Linked DNA regions of Homo sapiens: regions 2 and 3 are each linked to region 1. The links are contacts of gene promoters, found by promoter capture Hi-C in blood cells and fetal thymus (Javierre and others, 2016). All regions are on one chromosome and are shown on one strand. The core of a region is centred on a gene start or on the middle of the fragment in contact, and the rest is flanking DNA. Distances in the headings are between cores, read along the strand shown. Region 1 holds the start of HAS2 (hyaluronan synthase 2). Region 2 has its middle 120 kb from the start of LINC02855. Region 3 has its middle 140 kb from the start of LINC02855.

The links. The method cuts DNA at HindIII sites, captures the fragments that hold promoters and counts their contacts. A CHiCAGO score of 5 or more calls a contact.
Region 2: a fragment that was not itself captured here is called in contact with the fragment with the promoter of HAS2 in region 1 in 2 of 17 cell types (non-activated CD4 T cells and total CD8 T cells); the score reaches 6.3 in non-activated CD4 T cells.
Region 3: a contact is called between a fragment that was not itself captured here and the fragment with the promoter of HAS2 in region 1, in 3 of 17 cell types (non-activated CD4 T cells, activated CD4 T cells and naive CD8 T cells). The highest score is 7.0, in non-activated CD4 T cells.

The regions. Positions count from the first base shown.
Region 1 is chr8:121,640,000-121,642,926 of GRCh38, reverse strand. It overlaps HAS2 (hyaluronan synthase 2), which reads left to right and starts at 1,487. Exons shown (of 4, transcript NM_005328.3): 1 at 1,487-2,074. It also overlaps HAS2-AS1. RefSeq lists an enhancer at 205-828. The HindIII fragment of the contact is 9,649 bases long and covers 1-2,927 here.
Region 2 is chr8:121,820,882-121,823,768 of GRCh38, reverse strand. No RefSeq gene overlaps it. Among named protein-coding and RNA genes, the nearest start is that of LINC02855, 120 kb to the right of the region's middle. RefSeq lists an enhancer at 1-613. The HindIII fragment of the contact is 1,420 bases long and covers 692-2,111 here.
Region 3 is chr8:121,837,248-121,839,975 of GRCh38, reverse strand. No RefSeq gene overlaps it. Among named protein-coding and RNA genes, the nearest start is that of LINC02855, 140 kb to the right of the region's middle. The HindIII fragment of the contact is 2,765 bases long and covers 8-2,728 here.

The sequences.
Region 1 (2,927 bases), core at 238-2,737:
TGAAGTCATCAGGCCAAGGTAATGCTTCCCAGAGGTGTAACCGCTGTGTGTGTGTGTGGCGTGGCGGGGGGGGGCGGGGGGAAGGGGGCGGAAACGCGCAGTACTTTGCAGGTCAGCCCCTGGGGACTGGGATGGCTGACTACCTGGTATTGCACTAAAATGCTTGACCCCTAATCACATCCCCCAACACTACACCTTGTGCGACGTGATGAAAGCATCATTTCCAGTTTATTCGACTTTTCTGTTTAGACTTATTCATTATAGCCCATATATGTGATAAGGACTAAGAACCCAGTCTTCAAGGTCCTGTCGAGTTCCAAAGAAGTCCACCCCTCAGAAGATCCTTGGAAGGGGAAGAAGGAAAAAAGAAAGAAAGAAAAATCTGTTTTACCCTATAACAATTTCAGCGCAATCTCCCAAGACCAAGTTGGTTAATTTGTAAAGTCACTCTCATTTTTTCCTCAACAGTGCCACCTACTGTCCATTTTCAGTCATCAGCAGGCTTGTTGGCAAGGTCCAAGAGAAAGAAAGGAGGCGGAGTGGTGGGGGGAGGAGTAACCAAAAAACGAACTCTACCCAGCCTTGGGGCATTGTGAAAACGACGAGGAAAGGCCATCTCCAAGCAAGACATATTTGTCCTCGTCAACTTTGCAGAAGGCTTGCAAAAAGCAAAAGCCAGTTAAGCCATTTCCTTCAAGATGGCTAAATATAAGTCCTCCAGAAAACAATTTTTATTATTTTATTTTTAATGCGCGCTGTTTGAGTATGTTTACGTTAGGGGACCAGATTGAGCAAAAATATACATATAATTACTTTTCTATGTTTTCCGCCCACCCACGGCAGAAACCTCTTTATGAGAAAGGCTTTGACACTTGACGTCAGCTCAGAAACTTTTGAGTTGGCGGGAAGAAAGGGTTAACAAGTGGTGGACCAGCGCGATCTTTTTAGAGTCCCAGCCGGCTGTCGAAGGCTCCAGGTACACACACACACGCACACACTTACACACACACACACACACGTGCACACACCCCTCCCAACTGTTCCTCCTTGGGTCGGTTACTTAGCTGAAGGGCACCATTTGGCTTTAAAACAAATTACTTCAGCGCCACAGGGAGTTTATCGCTTGGAGGGAACTTGTAACGCGGGAGTTCAGGGAAATCCAAGAGGCGAGGGCTCCCACCTCCGCCGCCAGAGGAAAGTAAGGAATCAGGTGGTGGCCCCCTATGTGTCTTGCATTTCTCTGCACACGTTAGCAATCAAGTTAATTGAATTCATTGGAGTTTAGAACCGGCCTGTAGCTCAGAGAAGGCTTTGAATGGCCAATTTCTCTCTCTCCCTCTCCCCCTCCCCGCCTCCCGCTCGCCCGCCCGCCCGCGCTCCCAGTTCCCTCCCCTCAGGGTTCCCCAGTCCACACCTCCCTCTCCACTTCCCTCACCCCCCCACTCCCTCCGCCGCCCTATTAAAACACCCACCAGCTCACTTGTTAAGACCCCCTTAAGTTGGAGGAGGCAGAAGGGCAACAACGGCGGGGAAGGAGAAGTCAAGACGTCTGGAAAGAATTACCCAGTCCTGGCTTCGAGCAGCCCATTGAACCAGAGACTTGAAACAGCCCCAGCCAAAGACTTTTCTCCCAATTCTGCGCTTCCTGGGTTCTGCTGAGTCTTCCACAGGCTTTTTTTTTTTTTTTTTTTTTTTTTAAGACGAAAAAGAGATTTTCTGTTATCGGGGGCAGAAAGACTGAAGCCCAAAAAAAAAAAAAAAAAAAAAAGAAAAGAAAAGAAAAAAGAAAAGTTAATTTATTTTTAAAGCATAATTTTTTTAAGAATTAGACTGAAGTGCAACGGAAACATAAAGAGAATATTAGTGAAATTATTTTTTAAAGTGGGGAAGAATCAAACATTTAAGACTCCCCTATCCTTTTTAAATGTTGTTTTTAAATTTCTTATTTTTTTTGGCCGGTCGTCTCAAATTCATCTGATCTCTTATTACCTCAATTTTGGAAACTGCCCGCCACCGACCCTCCGGGACCACACAGACAGGCTGAGGACGACTTTATGACCAAGAGCTGAACAAGGTACGTTACACTGGCGCGTTTTGGTGAAGGATGAAGGTCCTCCAACAGGCCAGGGAGAAGGAAGACATCCTTATAATTGTTTTAAAATTTTTAAGCCAGTTTCGATAGAAAAGTTGGAAGTTTAAAAATTTCCAACAGACTGAAGATCAGGGAATATTTCAGGTCACTGTCAGGCTTAGCAACATAGCCCTCTTTTCCCATTTCTGCGGCTCTCGCCAGAAATCCGCTGCCTTTCTGGGGACACAGGTAGCCTCTCTGCCTGGGAAAGGCTGCACGTCCTCAGATGTACTTTTCCATTTTGCATCTTCCGGAGCAGCAGAGGGGCTCCAGAGTTAGGAAACAAGAATTCCCAATGTAAGGAAAATGCATTCTGCACAGCCGCCCCACCCCTTCCCTTCTTTTTTTCCCACACACACACACACACACACACACTGTGGGGAGAAAAACTGGAATAGCCCAGCGCGTTTTACTTCTAAGTGAAAAAGTCGCTTCTTGCTGGGAATGCAAAGGGTTAAGCAATCTGGGCTTCCAGCTCCGACAAGCTGGGACCCTGGAGAAGGAGGGTCCTTCTCTACCTCCTCGCAGCTACCATCCCCTCTCGGCCACTCCCCCCTTTCCCGGGCCTCCCCTCCTTTGCACTTCCCGCACCCCATTAAAGTGTCAGGCTCGTCAGTCTGGGCTTACTCGGGCCAGGGGTCCCTGACGCAGGCGGTGGCACCCGCAGATAGGAGCGGGAGGAGGGCGCGCATCCCTCCTCTCCTCGCCGGGCCAGCCCGCCGGCCGCCCGGAGGCAGGGCGTGCGTGGGGACCGCGCGCTGCGCTTCGGCAGCTGCGGCGTCCCCAGAGCCAATTC
Region 2 (2,887 bases), core at 152-2,651, 180 kb before region 1:
CTCTGATTTTTTATATCTTGGCCAAATTCCTATCTAAGGGGTTTGGAGAGTCATGCCCTACAAACCATAAATTCTCATCTGATGGGTTTTATTTAACCCTGTATATTGGGACTTACTTTCCAATCTGACTCTGGCATAACAAGGAAGAAAATCAGAATATTTTACCCCAAAACATTTTTCTCTGCCACATCTTGAAATGGGCCTGCAAAGCCATCCTTTGTGGGGGACAATCTGCATCTGTAAAGAATCTCTATTAACATAGCTAGATCTTTTTCTTCCAGGCCCGCCCTATCCTGAAGAGATTAACTAAAAGTCTAGCACCTTTCAAAGATCTGAATAGGAAATATTTGTCATCTATTGTCTCCAAGGGCAGCCACTATAAGACTTCAAAAGAACCTTGGTCTCCACAATCATTTATCTTAACCTGAACATTTCCTTTCTGTCATCCCAGGTCTTTAGACAAACTCAACCAACTGCTAACCAGAAAATGTTTAAATTTACCTATAACCTGGAAGCCCCTGCTCCCCTATTTCTTAAATGTATTTGATTGACATCTCATGCCTCCCTGAAATATATAAAATCAAGCTGTACCCCGACCACCTTGGCACTCATATCTGGCTCAGAATAAATTTCTAAAAATATGTTACAGATTTGACTCTTTTTGTCAACATTGGTCATAACTTGAGAAGCTTCTCGACGTTTTGTCTGTGAGGAAAAGGAGCTGTCATCAGTCTTAGAAGAAAAAAGTCTGTCTGCACTCCTTGACAGTCATAACCTCTTGAGGAAATCCCCATCAAATCAAGAATACTATAAAAGACAACTGGAATTTCCCATCTCCTTTGGTATTATTTACATATCTGAGAAATCTTTGGAACTCAGTAGCTGAGGTTTCCTGAGTTTCAAGATATGAACACATTTCGGTTGTTATTTCCTAGAAATTTATATTTCTCTGAGACATAGCGTACTTTCTTCATTTCCGGGTCCCGGGTTGGTGGTTGCCTGGTGATTTTAGGGCATCATTAAAAACACATGAAGTAGCACTGGTGATTTTCTTATCTATGTTGCAAGAACTTCACTTGCTTTTTTAAGGAGGAAGGAGTTCTCTAAGTGAAGGCCTAGATCCAAAAGTGATACCCAAAGTAAAATCTTGGAAATAACCCAAGGTGGATATAAACATCCTTTGCAGATAAAAATGTCTAGTGCAAGTGACAAAACTTTTCTTGGCAGCCCTGTTTCATGTTCATCCCATAGTACAATTGCTTGTAAATTAGTGTGACCCTATTCAATTAATCTTTCTCAGTACAGATGATGAAGCCATGCACCATATTGTAACGATACATAATATATCATAGAGGTCCCTTTTTTTGGATCCAAAACAATAAAGAATTTTAAAAGTCTGTCAATGGCTTTATTTCTCTGGAATATATAGCCATTCTTATTTTTAATTTTTTCCAACAGATCTGAGGGCTTTGACATAAAAGTGAGGTTTCCAAAAACAGAGACTTGTCTTCAAATCATAAAAGATCTATTTCTTACTCTAGGACTAGACATATGGTAGCAGGATTGAAGAGGACTCATGTGCCTGCTTTTATATTTTTCATTTCTTACCTCTTTTCACTATTTCTTTATCTCACCACAGACTATGCCTATAATGCAGATACTGACTTGAGCCCTTTAAGAAAGAAAGATTTTATGCCGAATGTTGTCCAGTTAATGGACAATTACTCATTTTTTTATAGCAACACTGGACTAAAATCAGAACCATACTAAGCATCAGTAGAAAACTCTCCCATTTTTAAATCTATCAATTCTTTTAGTTGCCATGATTTCCTCTCCTTCTAATTCATACTTTCCTTCCTTGTCTGGAAACATACTGTATTAGTTTCCTACTGCTGCTATTTTAAACAATCCACTGATTTGTGCTTAAAACAATACAAATTTATTTCACAGTTCTTTAGATCATAAATCCAGATTTGTTCTATGGTTTCTCTCTTCTAGGTTTCACAAGACTAAAATCAAGGTGTCAGTCTGCCCAACCCCTATTAGTGAGATCCTAATCAATTAATCCTTCTCAGTACAGGGGAGATCTGGGAAGAATCTGCTTCTAAGCTTATTCAGGCAGAATCCAGTTCCTTGCAGTTGTAGGGTTAAACTCATCATTTCCATGTGTGCTGTTAGCTGGAGAGCATCTTATCTCCTAGAGGTTTATCCTCAGTCCTTGTAGGTGGGCATCTCACAGCCAGCAACGGTGCCTCTAATCCGTCTCACACTTAAAATCTCTCCAGCTTCCTCTTCTGTTACATCTCTTTTGCCTTTGTCTTCTGCTGCCTTTCTGACTCAGAGAAATTTCTCTGCTCTTAAAGTTCATATGATTAGATTGGGCCACTTGGATAAGCCAGGATAACCTCCCTCTGTTAAGGTTCATAACCTTAATTACATCTGCAAATTCCCCTTTGCCATGTAATGTAAGATACTGACAGTTTCTAGAGACTGAGGCATAGACATATTTTTGTGTTTGTTTGGTGGATAGACATTATTCTATCTACCATACATATTAAGTTTGGAGTTCTATGCATCTAATTCCTTTTTTAAATCGTGGATTAAGGAGGCAAAATTAAATCTGGATGCTAAGAATCCAGAGAACAGCTAGTATTTAGAGCATGGTTTTCCTCTAAACAAAGAGACAAAGCCAGAAAATGAGTGGAGGAAAATTAGGCAGATACTCGGGGTTATGGTTTAGGCCAATGTGATTCTCAAATTAGGGTGATCCATAGGCTCATGTCCACTGATGCTTGGAGTTTGCATCTGAATGGCAAAAATAAGGGGTAACAGGAATGCACTTGATTTTGTTTCTAGGGCTCACAACTTCCAATATTGACATTAATGT
Region 3 (2,728 bases), core at 141-2,640, 200 kb before region 1:
TCAAGCTTTATATGCTACTTTGTACAACCTGGAGAAATCTTGAAACAGAATATTTTTGACATTAGCCAAAACCTCAACTGAAATCCCTTCTGGACTCTGTTAAGTACCTTTTCTAGGTGATTATCAGCTCAGAAACATTGGTCCCTCTTCTCTTCCACTTAGGTTCCACTTAACAGCAGGAGCCATGGGGCTGCCCTTCACTTTATCTCAGTGAGAGAAGTGAGAAGGTAAAGGTCATTGTCTGAAAGTCAATTGTTTGGTAGCAACTAACCATATTAATTTATTCCTTCTGAAAGATATTTGTGGGGAAGGTGATTTGATTCAGTATGATTTCTCTCTCCAGAGATGGCTCTGGGATCCAGAATAGCATGCTCATTCACCCTATTTTGTCCATCCCCAAGACCCCGCCTTAAAATGGGAGAAAATTGTGAGTTGGATATCAGATTTCCTAGAAAAAAAAATGGAACTTGAAGAATGCACCTTAATATCCCCAGTAGATCCTTTTAAGGCCATTGACTTGGTCTACATCAGAGTCAAATGACAGCCAGGTTACTGTATTGGCACCACTTCAAGGAAAGGCCATGAAACCAATACATTTAGGAGTCTTTTTCATGTCCTAAATCATCAGGTTTCAACATAGGCTTAAAAACCAGACCTACACAATCAGAATCATTGAGAATGAACTCCAGAGTTTGTATTTTTAACAAAAATAGGTAAATCTGCTAAGCATCCATATCTGGAAACCTCTGGCATAAAGGACATGCCCAGGACTCTGTCTTCATGTTGGCCATTGGCAGCTCTCTAGAAAAATGACTTGAGTAGGGCTCAGAAGACTTAGATTCTACTACTGCCACCATAACATTTTTATCTGAATTGTATTTGGAATAGTTAGGAAACATTGGATGTTATTGTTGGAAACAAACCAAGAAATCCATTTGGCATGTAACAGAGGAGTAGATTTAGACCTAAACAGCATGAATGCCCATAACAATGAATTCATTTCAAAGGTGAAACTAGGGCCAAGTTTTACTGAGACCACCAAGTTTCTCTCTCTAAAATGGTAACACCTAGATTAACTTCAGTTTCTTTATCTCTAAAATAATGATGTCATACTTTTTCAGCCACCTCCACAGATTGGTTATAAGGACTGTATGAGAGAATCGATATGAAAAGCTATGAAAACTTCAATATGGAAGACAGATATGTATTATCTATATATGATGAGAACATGGGTGGTTGAACTTTGGGAACTGTCAGTACAATCATGGGCACCTCATAGCTGGATGGTCAGGAGTTATTGTAAATGGCAAGGAGGGTGGTTCCATTTCTATGTGAGCAGAGGACACTGAATCTGTGATTTGAAATGAGTTAAGTTGATACTTCAGTATCCAACTATGTGGCATTACAGAATCACTGAAGATGGCAGAAAGCACAAGGAGGAAAGGCTGATGACATCATTTAGAGGTCCAAAAACAAAAATTGTGTGAATCCACTCATAACACTCACATCATCACTCACATTTCCAACTTAATTTAGATAACAGCTCTGGCAATTCCATTTTCATCAAAGTATATGCTGATTTACTTTATTCTCACCACTTCTTATGTAAGTGCTTATTTAAGACTAGAAAATTTCTTTGTAAAAACATTGCTAATAGGAGAAAATGTTGAAAATGTTTCAATTTTTATTTGCACTGGGCCATTGCATGTCCCCAGACTATCATTACACAAAGTCACAGAGGGCTGATATGATTTAAATGTTAAGATTTGAAGACATGGCTGGGAGTTACATGAGGCCTCTATTCATCTTCTGGTTCACCAAACATTTACTAAGCCTAAATTATGTCAACACTGCTCTAGTGTATACAGCATAAAACTCCCATAAATGGGAGAGCCCAAATCCTGCTCCCATTAATGGCTGGCAGAGGTATAGCTATGAAGACTCTCATAAGTATATATTTTTAAAGCAGTTGCTATTTATTGAGAGCCTACTATACGACTGGAACTGTATTAGGAAATATACATATATCCTCAAGGCAATAATATTAAGTCTCTGTTTTTTATTCTAATTTTATGATGAAGAAAATGAGCAATAAACAGGTTGATTACCTTGCCTAAAGCCAACAACTGGTGAATGGTGAATACTGGATTCAAACCAAAATTGTTTGATTCTGAAGACCACTGGGGCCCTAACAAATCTTCTTTTGTTGTTTAACTAAATGTTTAATCAACTACATACAAGAAAATCATCATTTACACTGTTTAGTTTTGTTTGTTTGTTTGTTTGTTTGAGATGGAGTCTCGCACTGTTGCCTGGGCTGGAGTGCAGTGGTGTGATCTCAGCTCACTGCAACCTCCACCTCCCAGGTTCAAGCAATTCTCCTGCCTCAGCCTCCCGAGTAGCTGGGATTACAGGCACCCGCCACCACACCCAGATAATTTTTTGTATTTTTAGTAGAGAGGGGGTTTCACTATGTTGGCCAGGCTGGTCTTGAATGACTGACCTCATGATCCACCCACCTCAGCCTCCCAAAGTGCTGGGATTACAGGCATGGGCCACCGCGCCCAGCTAATACTAATTAGTTTTCATAACAACCCTATGAGCATGAAAGGTTGACTTTTGGGGGGTTACAGGATATAACTTCACCTAAATATAAGGCAAGAACATAAAATGAGTTTTCCAAGAAAGCCAGTGCAGATCTATGAGATATAAACATTGTTATTAGAGA